Regions from separate parts of the Homo sapiens genome. Here region 1 is linked to region 2. Evidence: promoter capture Hi-C in 16 types of primary human blood cells and fetal thymus (Javierre and others, 2016). All regions are on one chromosome and are shown on one strand. The core of a region is centred on a gene start or on the middle of the fragment in contact, and the rest is flanking DNA. Distances in the headings are between cores, read along the strand shown. Region 1 has its middle 260 kb from the start of CWC27. Region 2 holds the start of DIMT1 (DIM1 rRNA methyltransferase and ribosome maturation factor).

The links. Contacts are between HindIII fragments. The CHiCAGO score rates a contact against its expected background, and 5 or more counts as called.
Region 1: a contact is called between a fragment that was not itself captured here and the fragment with the promoter of DIMT1 in region 2, in 1 of 17 cell types (total CD8 T cells). The highest score is 5.4, in total CD8 T cells.

Annotation. Positions count from the first base shown.
Region 1 is chr5:65,027,764-65,031,406 of GRCh38, reverse strand. No RefSeq gene overlaps it. Among named protein-coding and RNA genes, the nearest start is that of CWC27, 260 kb to the right of the region's middle. The HindIII fragment of the contact is 1,839 bases long and covers 1,169-3,007 here.
Region 2 is chr5:62,402,430-62,406,211 of GRCh38, reverse strand. It overlaps DIMT1 (DIM1 rRNA methyltransferase and ribosome maturation factor), which reads left to right and starts at 2,307. Exons shown (of 12, transcript NM_014473.4): 1 at 2,307-2,518; 2 at 2,866-2,939. The coding sequence starts at 2,440. RefSeq lists an enhancer at 2,097-2,386. The HindIII fragment of the contact is 1,140 bases long and covers 1,968-3,107 here.

The DNA of each region.
Region 1 (3,643 bases), core at 839-3,338, 2.6 Mb before region 2:
AGAATGTCTGTTCCTCATTTTACTGGGTGGCCGTTGGATTGCAGGATTGGTGAAGAACCATCTTCCCCACAGTGCTTCAGAAAGTTGGGAGCCAGAAGCAGAGGGCTGTAGTTCAGCGATTGTGTGACCAGGGGGTCCTTGCTCCCAGAGCTCCCAAGATGGTGGCGGGCTGCTTGCAAAATGGCCACGGGCCGCTTCCAAACTGGCCGCAGGCCGCTTCCAAGATGGTGGCAAGCCTTGTGTTCTCTGACCTGGGGTTCTTGGGCTCACGGATTCCAAGGAATGGAATCTCGGGCCATGCGGTGAGTATTACAGCTCTATTAGAAGCCATGGGTCACGGAAGAGAACTGTGGAACCAAGTGACTAGTGTTCAGCTCCATTAGGGCGAACCCAGGCACTTAGCTGTGCAGGAATAAGGGCAAGCCTTTAGCCTGATCAGGAGCGGCAATGGGTACCTCACTGGATCAGGAGCACAGCGGACTCCCTGCTGGATCTGGACGGATGGAAGTCAGTGGCGGGTCTGCAGTGGCCGGAAACGGCAGTGGTGGATGGCGAGCGAAAGCTCAGCTCCAGCCCTAACAAACACGGACTGGAAGAGAGTGCAGTTGCAAGATTTAATAGAGTGAAAGCAGAGCTCCCATACAAAGGGAGGGACCCAAAGAGGGTAGCCGTTGCTGGCTCGAATGCCTGGGTTTATATCCTGATCATTGTCCCTCCTGCTGTGCTCTCAGGCAACAGATGATTGGCTATTTCTTTACCTCCTGTTTTTGCCTAATTAGCTTTTTAGTGAGCTCTCCTTACTACCTGATTGGTCGGGTGTGAGCTAAGTTGCAAGCCCCGTGTTTAAAGGTGGATGTGGTCACCTTCCCAGCTAGGCTTAGGGATTCTTAGTTGGCCTAGAAAATCCAGCTAGCCCTGTCTCTCAATTGCAGTGAGGACTCTTTAGTTCCTATGGAGTCTGACTTCTAGGTCTTTTTTAGGAACAAGCCATGGGCCTCTGCAGATGACATGGAACAACATATGGCTCAAGTCACAGATTATGTCACTAAGTCTGGAGGGCTGTGCCCTAAGTTTTTACAGGAAGGCAAGTATTTGACTGGAATCTTCACTGTGGGAAACAGTTAAGTGGTACAAGTTAAGGCATGTGGAAAAGACAGCATCTGAAGCTTCCACTATGCTAAACCTGTTAGCTATGAGGACCATTTTATCTCAGGGAGGACTGACCAGATTCCTCAGAACTGAAGTCTAAGAATGGAGTCCACAGAAAACAGGTGCAGGACAAGAATTGCTGGTAGGAAAGGGAGGAAGAGAATCAGGATTAAGAGAAGGCAAATAATTCCAAGAAGGTAGACTTGGATTTGGCAGGAAGAACAGCATGAGTGGTTTTCGTGAGAGCCGTTTAACAGAATTTCAGTACGAGTCTAAGGAGCATTTGGGCTGGCTAGCAAATGCAGAAGACTGACAGTGAAGGCGGAGGGAGGAAGAGCTGTACAGGTAAGCACTGCATAAGGGTGCCATGTCTAAAAAACATAATTCACATCACAAACAACATAGCTTTGATATTTAGTATGACGATTTTTTTCTTGCAGATTTAGTAGTGTTTCTTTTTAACAAAGTAAGTATATTATCACAATTTTCTGACATATGGAAGTAAAATGCCTTGGGGACCGGCTACCGTTTTCCAATTCATGCAAAGACAGCCTACGGACTAGCAATACTCCTGATGCGAAAAAGCTCAAAAGCCTCAAAAGGCATTCTATGATTCTACTAAAGTAGTAGAATCAATGAAATTTGTGAAAGAAGAATCTTCTGTTTATTTCTTACCCTGATCAATATAATGGTTCAGATGAGATATTGAAGGTTAATATTTTTATGTGGGGGATAAGAAAGAGATCAGTGGAAGTGAATCTTTCTGTTTTAACCTGTATCAGAACACAGGTACTGATGTTGTATATGTTCTGAAAATTCCTAAGGGTTTTCTTTTGCAATCCTATCTGGTCCTAACTCCCTCCCACTAGGCATGAGACCATTTCCTGTGGTTGCTAGATGTGATTTGAAGGTAGCAGGAGAATGGATAAGTGGGAAAGAATTACTACTCAAGTCAAAACCACTTGGCTTACATATAAAATTCTTGATGTGTTTCAAAAGCATCATTCAAAGCAAGTTGATAAATTAGACTTTTAATTGTGACATCGTAGGTAATGAAGAGTCTCTAGTAAAATTCTCCAAATTTCTTATTTTCTTTCCTATATCTTTGGGAAAAAGAAGTTTAGGAAAATGAGTCAGGTTTAAGGCAAATGGAACTATAGTACCAGAAAAAAATCCACTAATCTTTCTTGTAGGTATAGTTTGTGCTGCCAAAAAAGAAGCAGTTATATGATTATAGATAGAGAACAAATACTCTAATCTTGATGCTTTGATAGGGGACATTTCACTGATTAGCTTTTCGAATAACTAGTTGCTGTCTACTAAGTTTGAGATCTTTACTATAAAATAATTGCTATTGGAAGGCTATATTTAAATACCTGGAGAAATCACTCATTGTTTCAGTGATGTGAAATTTTTTTATTTTCTGTCTTATAAATAAGTGACTGACTTAAACTTGGAGCACTAGAAAGACTTACCAAGATCATTAATTGCATTTTCCCATCATGTAAACATTATGTTCAGGAAGGGGTGTAGTAGGAAGTTCTGGGAATTGGGAACAGACAAGCTGTCCTACTTGTCTTCTTGGCTTCTCTGATTGTATAGGTGTATTTGATGTTATGCAGTTTCTGTGAAAAATTTTGCATATCAAAGAATATGGTAAATTTACATAGGGGCTCATTATATAAAGAAATACCTAAGAGAATATGAGTCTTTGATTAAAAAAAAAAGCCTATTTTGCCATTTAAGATTCTCATGTCCATTTGATGTTTTTCATTCTTTCAGTTTTCTGCTCTAGGGCAGTGTCTAAGTCTGATTTCTGATTTTCAGAAAATAGGCATCAGAATTAGTTGAGTAAGCTTATTCAAAAAGAAACAAACGCAACAGATTCCTGGACCCCTACCCAGATCAACGGACTTGTCATTTCTGAGGCCTGGGAAACTCATTTTGACAAGATTCCTGCCCCTCCACTTCCTGCAGGGTGATTCTGAAGCACATTAATACATTTACGATTTCACATTCTGTGTTGTCGGGAGCAGGATGGAGATAGATTCTCAGTGCAGTACCAATCCATGAACAAAGAGAGATTAGTCTCTATTGAAGGTTCTTTCTCTGTTGAAATAAACAAAGGAGTAGTTTGAGAAAATCTGGGTGTATTTATAAAGGGCACACAACTGGCTGTGTGGGCTGATAGGCCTGGGGCTAAAAATATTTGAAACTGCAAAATTGCAAAACCGTCAAGTGTATGGATATTGAGAATTTTAAAAAATAAGATGGAGTATACTCTATCATGTAACTATTACAGTTTAAATCCTAATAAAGTGGAATTTGTGACTACAAGATCAACTTGATTCTTATCAAATACGATATTTGGAATTTTAAAAAGTTCTGTGAAATATCTAAACCAAGACTTGTACCTTCTAAAGTTTCATAAATTAGAGATTTAAAAAGTATCATAAATTCTTGAATTCAGCCTTTTATTCCTGCCTGTTAATAG
Region 2 (3,782 bases), core at 1,058-3,557:
GCTGTGGTTACACAGCAGTACACATTGGAGATACTGGGCTCCACATTTAGCTGGAAGACATGCCATGTCTTCTTGAGTTCCCTCTAATCTTCCTCTCCCATTGCGCATAAAGGATCTTCAAACCTTCTCCGCACTCATGCCCCTTGTCCTACCACCTCCACAGCTCCTTCTCTACAGAAAAACTTGCCTTTTATTTCACAGAAGAAATGCAACCTAGAGGCCAAAGCAGGCAGATCACTTGAGCTGAGAAGTTTGAGATCAGCCTGGGGAACAAAGTGAGACCCCGCCTCTACAAAAATTACAAAAATTAGCTGGACAAGATGATTCATGTCTGTCGTCTCAGCTACTCGGGAGGCTGAGGTGAGAGCATCGCTTGAGCCCGGCAGGCGGAGGTTGCAGTGAGCTGAGATCATGCCGCTGCACTCCAGCCTGGGTGACAGAGTGAGACCGTCTCAAAAAAACAAAACCAAAAAACCCAACAACAACAACAATAACAAATCACACACAGGGTTTTGTGTCATGTTAATTTTTTTTTTTTAAACAGGGTATCATGCTGTCGCCCAGGTTGGTGCAATCTTGGCTCACTACAAATTCTCGGGCTCAAGTGAGGCTCCCACCTCAGCTTCCCGAGTAGCTGAGACTACAGGCCTGCACCACCACGCCTGGCTAATTTTTGTATTTTTTGTAGAGACGGGGTCTCACTTTGTTGCCCAGGTTGATCTCAAACTTCTCAGCTCAAGTGATCCGCTCGCCTTGGCCTCTCAAAGTGCTGGGATTACAGGCATGAGCCACCTCTCCAGGCCATGTCCATCCTATTAACATTTGGAAGTGCCTAGCACAGTGTACTCTTTAGAATTGTGGAATAACAATGATTGATGAAATGAAACATATACTTGAAGATGCTACTAGGGTATACGAGATTTTTTTTCTGACTTAGAACTACATCAAAGAAAGAAGGGCCTAAGACCAAGGTTTGGGAATGTACACAATGAATTGCTCAAAAGAGAGTTAGCTTTAGTAATGACAGGAAGAAGCTATTTCTTCAACCAAACAGAATACACACAGAAAAATTTAAAAGAGCCATTACACTGGCTGGCAAAACAGATGTGGATATTATGGCCCTGGTACACACGGAGTTTATAGTCAGGTACACTGTCCTGTCACAACGACCAATACGTTATCGTATTTACAGCGTTTTGGAGTTTCTGTCCATCTCTGTCAATATAATACACTTTGAAATAAGTTTCTTACTTAGAATCCCTAGCAGTGTTTGATACACAGTTGGAGCTCAATAAATGTTTACGGAGTGAATGATGAGGCACAAAAGGAATTTGTTGAATTATTTGTTAAATGAATCAAATAATTTTCTAGGATTCACGGGCTGTCTTCTGCACGATAAGCTTCATTCTGTGGGTCTGAGTTTCTCCTGGTTCTCAATTCTGTCTTTTTGTGGATTATCTACTTTGTAGCTGGAGCTTTGTATCTGTTTAAGATAATTATTCTTCTATTCCTTTTTTTTTTTTTTTTTTTTTGAGACGGAGTCTCGCTCTGCCGCCCAGGCTGGAGTGCAGTAGCGCGATCTCGGCTCACTGCAACCTCCGCCTCCTGGGTTCACGCCACTCTCCTGCCTCAGTCTCCCAAGTAGCTGAGACTACAGGCGCCCACCACCACGCCCGGCTAATTTTTTGTATTTTTAGTAGAGACGGGGTTTCCCCGTGTTAGCCAGGATGGTCTCGATCTCCTGACCTTGTGATCCGCCCGCCTCTGCCTCCCAGAGTGCTGGGATTACAGGCGTGAGCCTCCGCGCCCGGCTCTTCTATTCTTAGTAGAAGCAACCAGTAGCCCTAGCGAAACCAGACGTTAATTCCATTCTCGCAGTTCTTTTCCCCAGGGCAAGCAGCAAAAAATGCATTCCCACAAAAGAGCAAGCTCATCCCCAAATCCCGGGTTTCCCACCCCCACAAGCTTCAGGAAAACAGGAGCGAGGCACGTGAATACTTCTTTGGACCTCAGCGATCCCAGAACCTAGGCTACTAAAACATCCATAGGCTTAACCTCATCATATAACTTAAACAGCCTTCGCAACACCGAGAGCACCACACCAACACCTTCTTATCCAGCCCTGGTTGGGACAAGGGCTCCAACTCCAGACTGCAGTCCTCGGTAGCGCGGTGTCTTCTGGGATCTGTAGGCTCCCGCGGTTCGGCCTTCCTCCCTCTGTGACTCCAATTCCCGGCAGTCAGTGGGCTCCAAGGTCCGCCCTTTTTCTGGAGGAGGAGCTCAGAGCGTACGGGAGGGGGCGGACCCTTGCCCCTCCGGCGCTTGGGCCAGAGTGGTGCGGGCGGCGCGTGGCGGCGATCCCCACGTGGTGGCTTTCTCACGCTAGCCCTCTTTGGTCCTCCTTGACGTCCCGGGCCTGTGGGCCCGCTTTCTGCCGAGATGCCGAAGGTCAAGTCGGGGGCCATCGGCCGCCGCCGCGGGCGGCAGGAGCAGCGCCGGGAGCTGAAGAGCGCTGGAGGTGCGGATCCCCGCGAGGAAGCTGGGGTCGGTCGGGTCAGGTCTTCCGGCAGGACCTAGCCTGGGGTGCGGACCAAGACCTGATCGGCAGAGGCCGGTCAGGACGCGCTCCCGTGAGCGCGGAAGGCAGGGGTGGGTCCCCGACTCGGCCGCAGGCCCTGCGCGTCGCCGCTGACTTCCTTTCCAGCTGGAGGATGAACTTATAAAGAGTTTGTCAGTCCTGGCGTGACGTTTCGTGGCCCTGGTTGGCGCAGAAATCTTCCCCATACCCATGCAGCTTTCTTCTCTGGTACTGCCTAATATCTAATCTCAGTAGGAAAATTAATGCTGTTTCGTATTTTCTTACAGGACTCATGTTCAACACGGGGATTGGGCAGCACATTTTGAAAAATCCTCTCATTATTAACAGCATTATCGATAAGGTGGGTGTGGAAGAGGAAAGGGAGAGAGTTGTTGGTTTATTAATTTTATTCCTATGAATACATAAGCGCAGAAAGTCTGCCTGCCGTAAATTAGATGCTCTGTAAATATTTGTTGAATGAATCAAATAATTGTCTAGGATTCTTGGGCTGTCTTCTGCATGATAAGCTTCATTTTGTGGGTCTGAGTTTCTCCTGGTTCCCAATTCTGTGTCTTTTTGTGGATTATCTACTTTATAGCTGGACCTTTGTATTTGTTCAAGATAATTATTCTTCTATTTCTAATCACCTTTTTGATCACTTAGTTTTTATGTACTCCATCTATTTATGTCTAAACTACACATTAGAAAGTTTGTTCCCCAGAAAAACATATAGTACTACATATAAATTATTTGGTGTATGCTAGTACCACATATAAATTGCTTGGAGTATTACTGCTTTCTGAGTTATTGATGTTCTCTTATGGTTATGGATGATTGGGTGTTAGGAAGTGAAATACACACGGTGCAGATTACACTTATGGTTAAAAGCAAGGAAAGCATCCTGGAGCTGTAGAAAGAGCATTACATAGTTAAAGGATCTTGTCAGGCTTCGTGTCATTTGAAAACTGAGAAAAAAAGAAAGAAGGGTCATGTACTATTTTAACCTTTTTAGCTCATAGTTTCCTTTGAGCATCTGATGAAAGCTATGGCCGTAGAATATTAGAGCTGTGTGCAGACATTCAATTTTGTGTACAGTTTCTGCTCTTCTGCATCCTTGAAACCATACATGGGTTGAAAATTGAAAAATCTTCGCCCAACACGTACAGTCCTTTCCCATTTGAACTTGTTGATACGAACAGAGAAG